2 separate regions of the Homo sapiens genome follow, and region 1 is linked to region 2. The links are contacts of gene promoters, found by promoter capture Hi-C in human tissues and cell types (Jung and others, 2019). All regions are on one chromosome and are shown on one strand. Each heading gives the region's core, a stretch centred on a gene start or on the middle of the fragment in contact. The rest is flanking DNA. Distances are from core to core; before and after follow the strand shown. Region 1 has its middle 37 kb from the start of RD3. Region 2 holds the start of RD3 (RD3 regulator of GUCY2D).

The links. The method cuts DNA at HindIII sites, captures the fragments that hold promoters and counts their contacts. A contact is called where the count stands out against the background at its distance.
Region 1: a contact is called between a fragment that was not itself captured here and the fragment with the promoter of RD3 in region 2, in 3 of the 25 tissues and cell types used here (bladder, spleen and thymus).

Annotation. Positions count from the first base shown.
Region 1 is chr1:211,452,568-211,457,156 of GRCh38, forward strand. No RefSeq gene overlaps it. Among named protein-coding and RNA genes, the nearest start is that of RD3, 37 kb to the right of the region's middle. The HindIII fragment of the contact is 3,093 bases long and covers 543-3,635 here.
Region 2 is chr1:211,488,953-211,493,744 of GRCh38, forward strand. It overlaps RD3 (RD3 regulator of GUCY2D), which reads right to left and starts at 3,210. Exons shown (of 3, transcript NM_001164688.2): 1 at 2,816-3,210. The HindIII fragment of the contact is 12,360 bases long and covers 1-4,792 here.

The sequences.
Region 1 (4,589 bases), core at 839-3,338, 38 kb before region 2:
CCTGCCCACCTCGGCCTCCCAAAGTGCTAGGATTACATGTGTGAGCCACCCAGCACTTTGGGAAAACTTCAAATAAACAATCTGGCAATGCATCTTAAAGAACCAGAAGGTGGCAGGGGGTGAGGGAGGCTAAGAAAATAAAAAAAGAACTAGAAGAGCAAGAGCAAACCAAACCTAAAATTAGTAGAAGAAAAGAAATAATAAAGATCAGAGCAGAAAGAAATAAAATTGCAATAAACCCAAAAGATCAATGAAACAAAATATTGTTGTTTTGAAAAGTTAAACCAGGCTGGGCACGGTGGCTCATGCCTGTAATCCCAGTACTTTGAGAGACCGAGGCGGGTGGATCACCTGAGGTCAGGAGTTTGAGACCAGCCTGGCCAACATGGTGAAACCCTGTCTCTACTAAAAATACAAAAAAAACTAGCTGGGCATGGTGTCAGGTGCCTGTAATCCCAGCTACTCAGGAGGCTGAGGCAGGAGAATCGTTTGAACCCAGGAAGCGGAAGTTGCAGTGAGCCGAGATCGAGACTTAGTCTCAGGAAAAAAAAAAAAGAAAAGTTAAACCAAATTGACAAACCTTTAACCAGATTACCTAAGAAGAAAGCAGAGAAGATACAAATAAAATCAGAAACAAAAAAGGAGACATTACAACTGATATTGCAAAAATTCAAAAGATCATTAATGACTTACTATGAATAACCAAATGGCAATAAATTGGAAAATCTAGAAGACAGAGACAAATTCCTAGACAAATACAACCTACCAAGATTGAACCAGGAAGAAATCCAAAACCTGAACAGACCAATAATAAGTAAGAAAATCGGGTGGGTTCCAAGATGGCTGAATAGGAACAGCTCCAGTCTACAGCTCCCAGTGTGAGTGACGCAGAAGACGGGTGATTTCTGCATTTCCAACTGAGGTACCAGGTTCATCTCACTGGGGCTTGTCAGACAGTGGGGGCAGGACAGTCGGTGCAGCCCACTGAGCATGAACCAAAGCATGCTCGGTCAGGTCAAAGCACAAGGGGTCAGGGAATTCCCTTTCCTAGCCAAGGGAAGTGGCGATGGATGGCACCTGGAAAATCAGGTCACTCCCACCCTAATATTGTGCTTTTCCAATGGTCTTAGCAAACTGCACACCAGGAGATTATATCCCACACCTGGCTCAGAGGGTCCTATGCCCATGGAGCCTCACTCATTGCTGGCACAGCAGTCTGAGATTGAACTGCAAGGCCACAGTGAGGCTGGGGGAGGGGCGCCCGCCATTGCTGAGGCTTGAGTAGGTAAACAAAGCGGCCAGGAAGCTGGAACTGGGTGAGGCCCACCACAGCTCAAGGAGGCCTGCCTGCCTCTATAGACTGCACCTCTGAGGGCAGGGCATAGCCAAACAAAAGGCAGCAGAAACCTCTGCAGACTTAAATGTCCCTGTCTGACAGCTTTGAAGTGAGTAGTGGCTCTCCCAGCACGGAGTTTGAGATCTGAGAAAAGACAGACTGCCCCCTCAAGTGGGTCCCTGACCCCAGAGTAGCCCAACTGGGAGGCACCCTCCAGTAGGGGCAGAGTGACACCTCACACAGCTGGGTACCCCTCAGAGACAAAGCTTCCAGAGGAATGATCAGGCAGCAACATTTGCTGTTCAGCAACATTCGCTGTTCTGCAGCCTCCGCTGCTGATACCCAGGCAAACAGGGTCTGGAGTGGACCTCCAGCAAACTCCAACAGACCTGCAGCTGAGGGTCCTGACTGTTAGAAGGAAAACTAACAAACAGAAAGGACATCCACACCAAAACCCCATCTGTAAGTCACCAAAAGACCAAAGGTAGATAAAAACCACAAAGACGGGGAAAAAACAGAGCAGAAAAGCTGAAAATTCTAAAAATCAGAGTGCTTCTCTCCCTCCAAAGGAATGCAGCTCCTCGCCAGCAATGGAACAAAGCTGGATGGAGAATGACTTTGACGAGTTGAGAGAAGAAGGCTTCAGAAGATCAAACTTCTCTGAGCTAAAGGAGGAAGTTTGAACCCATCGCAAAGAACATAAAAACCTTGAAAAAAGATTAGACGAATGGCTAACTAGAATAACCAATGTAGAGAAGTCCTTAAATGACCTGATGGAGCTGAAAAATATGGCACGAGAACTACGTGACGAATGCACAAGCTTCAGTAGCCGATTTGATCAACTGGAAGAAAGGGTATCAGTGATTGAAGATCAAATGAGTGAAACGAAGCAAGAAGAGAAGTTTAGAGAAAAAAGGATACAAAGAAACGAACAAAGCCTCCAAGAAATATGGGACTATGTGAAAAGACCAAATCTACATCTGATTGGTGTACCTGAAAGTGATGGGATGAATGGAACCAAGTTGGAAAACACTCTGCAGGATATTATCCAGGAGAACTTCCCCAATCTAGCAAGGCAGGCCAACATTCAAATTCAGGAAATACAGAGAACACCACAAAGATACTCTTCGAGAAAAGCAACTCCAAGACACATAATTGTCAGATTCACCAAAGTTGAAATGAAGGAAAAAATGTTAAGGGCAGCCAGAGGGAAAGGTTGGGTTACCCACAAAGGGAAGCCCATCAGACTAACAGCAGATCTCTTGGCAAAAACTCTACAAGCAAGAAGAGAGTGGGGGCCAATATTCAACATTCTTAAAGGAAAGAATTTTCAACCCAGAATTTCGTATCCAGCCAAACTAAGCTTCATAAGTGAAGGAGAAATAAAATCATTTACAGACAAACAAATGCTGAGAGATTTTGTCACCACCAGGCCTGCCCTACAAGAGCTCCTGAAGGAAGCACTAAACATGGAAAGGAACAACCAGTACCAGCCACTGCAAAAACATGCCAAATTGTAAAGACCATTGATGCTAGGAAGAAACTGCATCAACTAACAAGCAAAATAACCAGCTAACATCATACTGATAGGATCAAATTCACACATAACAATATTAACCTTAAATGTAAATGGGCTAAATGCTCCAATTAAAAGACACAGACTGGCAAATTGGATAGAGTCAAGACCCATCAGTGTGCTGTATTCAGGAGACCCATCTCACGTGCAGAGACACATACAGGCTCAAAATAAAGGGATGGAGGAAGATCTACTAAGGAAATGGAAAACAAAAAAAGGCAGGGGTTGCAATCCTAGTCTCTGATAAAACAGACTTTAAACCAACAAAGATCAAAAGAGACAAAGGAGGCCATTACATAATGGTAAAGGGCTCAATTCAACAAGAAGAGCTAACTATCCTAAATATACATGCACCCAATACAGGAGCCCCCAGATTCATGAAGCAGGTCCTTAGAGACATACAAAGAGACTTAGACTCCCACACAATAATAATGGTAGACTTTAACACCCCACAGTCAACATTAGACAGATCAGTGAGACAGAAAGTTAACAAGGATACCCAGGAATTGAACTCAACTCTGCACCAAGCAGACCTAATAGACATCTACAGAACTCTCCACCCCAAATCAACAGAATATGCATTCTTCTCAGCACCACATCACACTTATTCCAAAACTGACCACATAGTTGGAAGTAAAGTGCTCCTCAGCAAATGTAAAAGAACAGAAATTATAACAAACTGTCTCTCAGACCACAGTGCAATCAAACTAGAACTCAGGATTAAGAAACTCACTCAAAACTGCTCAACTACATGGAAACTGAACAAGCTGCTCCTGAATGACTACTGGGTACATAACGAAATGAAGGCAGAAATAAAGATGTTCTTTGAATCCAATGAGACCAAAGACACAACATATCAGAATCTCTGGGACACATTTAAAGCAGTGTGTAGAGGGAAATTTATAGCACTAAATGCCCACAAGAGAAAGCAGGAAAGATCTAAAATTGATACCCTAACATCACAATTAAAAGGACGAGAGAAGCAAGAGCAAACACATTCAAAAGCTAGCAGAAGGCAAGAAATAACTAAGATCAGAGCAGAACTGAAGGAAATAGAGACACAAAAAACCCTTCAAAAAATCAATGAATCCAGGAGCTGGTTTTTTGAAAAGATCAACAAAACTGATAGACCGCTAGCAAGACTAATAAAGAAGAAAAGAGAGAAGAATCAAATAGATGCAATAAAAAATGATAAATGGGATATCACCACCAATCCCACAGAAATACAAACTACCACCAGAGAATACTATAAACACCTCTATGCAAATAAACTAGAAAATCTAGAAGAAATGGATAAATTCCTGGACACATACACTCACCCAAGACTAAACCAGGAAGAAGTTGAATCCCTCAATACACCAATAACAGGCTCTGAAATTGAGGCACTAATTAATAGCCTACCAACCAAGATGGAGTCACAGTTGAATTCTTACAGAGGTACAAGGAGGAGCTGGTACTATTCCTTCTGAAACTTCTCCAATCAATAGAAAAAGAGGGAATCCTCCCTAACTCATTTTATGAGGCCAGCATCATCCTGATACCAAAGCCTGACAGAGACACACACAAAAAAGAGAATTTTGGACCAACATCCCTGATGAACATTGACGCAAAAATCCTCAATAAAATACTGGCAAGCTGAATCCAGCAGCACATCAAAAAGCTTATCCACCATGATCA
Region 2 (4,792 bases), core at 1,960-4,459:
GGTGGAGCAGGCTGGGCTTGGGGAGACAGTGCAGCCTTCAGCAGATAAAACCTGAATTCAGTTCCTACGCCCTTCCCCTCCCGTGTATGCTGCCTTTGTCCAAGTCACCTTCATGGCCCCAAGCCTCAGTTTCCCCAATCTATAAGGGAATAATAAAGGTACCTATTTCAAGTTACTGTGAAAATCAAATGAGATTATGTCTTTGTAAATGTTTTATTTTTATAAACTAACAATAAGCTGATTCACCTAGATCAGTGGCTACCATTGTCGCTTAGTACAGATTCTTACCCTTGGGTCCTAGGGAAAATTCAGGGATTTATGAACTTGGGTGGGGAAAAAAGTCATCTTTATTTCCACTAACCTTTAACTGAAATGTGGTATTTCTTTAGTTATGAATGAGGGTCATAGACCACAGTAATATCAGTAGCCCCATGGCTTTATCTCCAGCAGAAACCACAGATTTTTCACAAAATGCTTTAAAGTTGTTATTCTTGAATTATCTGGTATGCTCATCACTACTATGAAATTGTGGCATTTATTAGACTTGCTACTAGGTTTTATTATTTCACATGTTGATAGGGAAGCACACATATTATTATATCATAAATCATTTTTTCTTTCTTTTTTTTTTTTTTGATAGCTGCATTTCAATAGAGCTTGTTTCCTTTGTACCCCAGTGAATTTACTTTTATGCATTTAGAAGCATTTTTCTAGGAACGTGTCCACAGGCTTCACAGACTCCCAAAGGGGGCACAAAAATAAAGGATCCCCTGGCTTGGTGCAAGCTTGACCCCAACTTTGTTCCTGGCCTTCCCCAGCCCTGGCTTCTGGTCACCGTGTTGGGAGAGCTGAGCCTCCCTGTTTCAAGAGAAGGCCCAGGTGGTGAGGCCTCAGGTTTACAGAGCAGAGTGGATGATGGGGAAGCCCTCGCACGTTCTGTCTCTGCCTTTTGGTGTCACTCACCCACGCCCGTTATCTTCCATTCTCTGATCTTCTCTTTCCTCTTTCCTTTCTCCTTCATTACCCCTTCCACCCCCACACTCTCAGAGCCTTCCTTTCAGCCTATTTTTGAACATCCCTGAGGATAATGTCTTTTCTGTGGCTCCTGGGAGGCGCCACTACCAGCTGTGGCTCGTTAGCTGTGCTGGAAAAACTCTCGCGTTGTGCCTCAAGGGCAAGAGGAGTCTCTGGTTCCACTTGGCACTCAGAGGGGGACCAGGGATGTCTCAATGGTGGGAACAATGGGGAGTGTGACCTTGGAGCTGGAAGCAGGGCTCTGACCCCCTGCAGGAGGGATGAGAGTGCCCTCACCTCTAGTGAGAACTGAGGCCCTGCGCCGGCCCCAGCCAAACAGTGAGGGCGTGCAGACCTTGCCCAGGAAGGCCAATTTCTCAGTGCAAAGGGAGCCATGGCCAGGGAACCCGGCCCGGGTCCTCCACCTCTGAAGCTGAGCTAGGCATCTGCAGGCCAGGGTGAGGGGCTGCCCTGTGTGACCCGCCGGACCCAGGCATAGAGCAGCACCTGAGTCAGGCTGTCCCAGAGCACTGGCAGCTTCACTGCAGGGGCAGGCTGGCTCTGCTGACGCCAGACGCTCAGTCTGGGCAGAGACTTCTCAGTGGGGGCAGAGAGTAGGTGCTTCTCTGGCTAATCTGCCTCCCAGCTCTGTGTTTGATAAGGCCCAAGTCCAACTTTACAGATTGCAAATTGACCTTATTTCTCTTTGGCATCACAGAAAAACAACCTATAATCCACCAAGCCAGATATGAGCGGGCCTGACCTGTGGATCCTCTGCCCACCTGACAGACATCTGCTCATTTGTCGGGAACCCCTCAAGAGACAACTCCTCCCTGCAGCCGGCCCCTCACTTCCCCCCACCCATGGAGCACTGATCCCAGCCACCAGGGCCTGACACAAGGGCCCATCACCATGGCATCTAGCAAACACGTTTCTCACGCTTTGGGTTGTATTTATCTCTTCCCCACCTAGCTATGAATTCTGCAAGGGCGAGAGGAATGTGGGTTGAATCTGCTGCACATGGTAGCACTTGATAAGCGGTTCCTGAATGAATGAGTGAATGGCAGCCAGTCCTTCCCATTCTGAGGCAGAGGTGCAGCCAGGAGAGGGCGTGTACACAGGTCTGACTGACCACAGTGGGAGGGGACTGACCCTCATCCCTTGGTCGCAGCTGGACTTTCCTTCTAGGCCCGATCTCCCTGGCGCCCCACCCTGCACCCATCTGCCTGGGCCCACTCTCCTGGGCATGTTATCAGGGATGCACAGACTGCTCCATGTTCGAGGGGACTGAGGCACATCCATCACCCTCGTGCCCTGGGTGCTGCTGCATCCCCAGAGCCTGACTCTGTGCCTTGGACTTAGTAGATGCTCGAATCACAGTTCGCAAACCCATGCAAGAGTCTCTGATTTGGGTTTCGCTTTCCTTCCCCCTGCCTGTGTCCACTCTATAAAGGCAGAAAGGAACCTGCTGGAGCTGGGTCCTCCCCGAGAGGCTTGCAGTTCCAGAACAGGCAAAAACAATGGCTTCCCACAGGTTTACAAAACAAGGAGCAGGCTATAGCCCCGAGGAAGCTGCAGGACCCTCATCGGTTCCAACTCCTGTGGAACTGATGAGGACTAAAGGGGCCTTCCTGTGGCCATCTGGGTCCCGGAGGTGGGCGGCTTTCTAGGCTCCCCAGCCTGCCACACCCCTTGAGGCCACCCCACCCAGCTTCAAGCCTCAGCCCTAACTTCCAAAGGTGCAGCTGTGCCAGGGTGCGGGTGGGGAAGACACTGTCTCCTGGGGAGACCTCCATCTTACCTCTGAGGTCAGCCTCTGCTCAGGTGCAGCGTCACAGCAGGGGGCCTGCGTTCTGCTTCCCAGTCTGGGAGAAGAGAGTGTCTGGATATTTTCAGGAAAAAAAAAGAAAGTTGAGCAGCCACAGCAGGGCAGGGCAGTCTACATCCTCAAGTCTCCCTCAGCTTCTCTGCTGCTGCCGGCTGGCCTCAAATTTTGCCTCTCTTTGGTTCTCTGAGAAGTTTTACCAAGAGAAGAGACAGGAGGAGAGATCCAGCCTGGACTATTGTTTGTGGGGTGTGTAGGTGTGTGTGTGTGTGTGTGTGTGTGTGTGTGTGTGTGTGTGTGTATGCGTGTATGTATCCCGCGAGGCTGGAGCCACAGCTTCCCTGATGAACCATGGAGGCGGGCCAGCTCCTGAGCTGCGGTTGCCCTGGAGACCCACCTAAGCCTCTTTGCCTGGAGCAGCATTATCTGTAGAGGGAGTGGCTGATCTGACACAAAAGCCTGAGGCGACCCAGGCCCAGGCAGTGAGGGAGCACTTGTGTCCAGATGGCATTCTGTCCGCTTCCTCCTCCAGCCGGTGCTCAGTGTGGCACAAACTGGGCAAGACCATTCTCACCCAACCCTCTGCTGAGCCCTAGGTGTACCTGCTGTTGGCAAATGTTTCCAGCTGCCTGGTGGGTGGCTCCTGGATGGAGATCCCCTCTTTCTATCAGCTCCCTCCTACAGGGAAGGGGTGATTCTGGGTGCTGAGGACAGGGACCTGTGAAGATACATCTCCGCCTTTGCCCCACCACATCCCTTGCCTGTCTTCCTCTCTGCTTATCTAAATTATTTCCTTCCCTCAAGGCAAGCTCAAGAGCAGACAGTTCTGACTTTCAGAAGGAGGGGCTGTCCAGGGAGAAGAGGAACATGGAACAGAAAGCATTGACGTTGAGGTATTTGAGATAACATTTGGGGATAGCAGAAGCATCCTGTTGCTGTTCTGCAGCATCCCACACTCATGTCTGGGCCTCCTTCCTGTCTCTGCTCTCTGGTCACGCTGTCACTTGTAGACTGTTCTGCCTAGAAGCCATGTGTGGGCCAGCTTGCACCTAACAGACATTAGGTAGCACTAAAACAGATGCACACTGCCCTGTGAGGGGCATGGGAATACTGTAATGGGCATGAAGCTGCATTATAATAGATCTTAGGTAATCCTGTGCTGGGTGATAGCGTGACTTTTGCACACATCTGGTTTTGATTGTGTTGGAAATAAAGCAGAAAGTACAACCAAGAATAAATTAAACAATGGCTGATGAAATGGACTCAGGTTGCCCACCTGCCTGCCTGCATGATTTCGTCCCTGGGTGATTTGTCACTTCGTGCTTGCTCTGTGGCTGGTTCCACTCAGCTGGTTCCATCCGCCTTCCCTCTTCATCCATCAAGCAGGCAAGATTCTTGAGTCAGGAGTTGGATCATATACTTCTCTTGACCAGTTCACAGCACGACAGCCCCAAAGATTGAGTGGGTCACTTGGGGATGGAAGATCCCCACATTTGAGGGAGCTGAAGCTGACTTCCTCTGACCCACAGTTCCCAGGCGGCCTCCACCTCAGGGCCAGCTAAGGCCAGAGTCACCCAAAGCAGGTAACTGGGAGTCCCCACCTCTGAGCACCCCACCACTATCCTGGCACTTTCCCAAGGGGCGTGGCTTGGAGGTCCAAGGGCAGAAATTCCCAGGCATTTCCACACTGTAGGGAAGGGAGCAGGGGGATGACAAGACTTTACCTTCCCTTTAGGAAAGTTGCTGGAGGCAATGAGGAGAGGAGGGCATGGACTAAGTCACATGCTCATCTGTGCAGCACGTATTTCTAAAGCACCATTCTACAGGGGCACCAAGCTAGGAGCTGGCTGAGCCTGGCTCTCCTCTCTGCACACATCCCAGCCAAGCCTGTGTGTGCTGGATTGCTGGATCAGATGAGGAGGAGGTGGAAGTCTGGCAGGCAGGTGGGGAGCA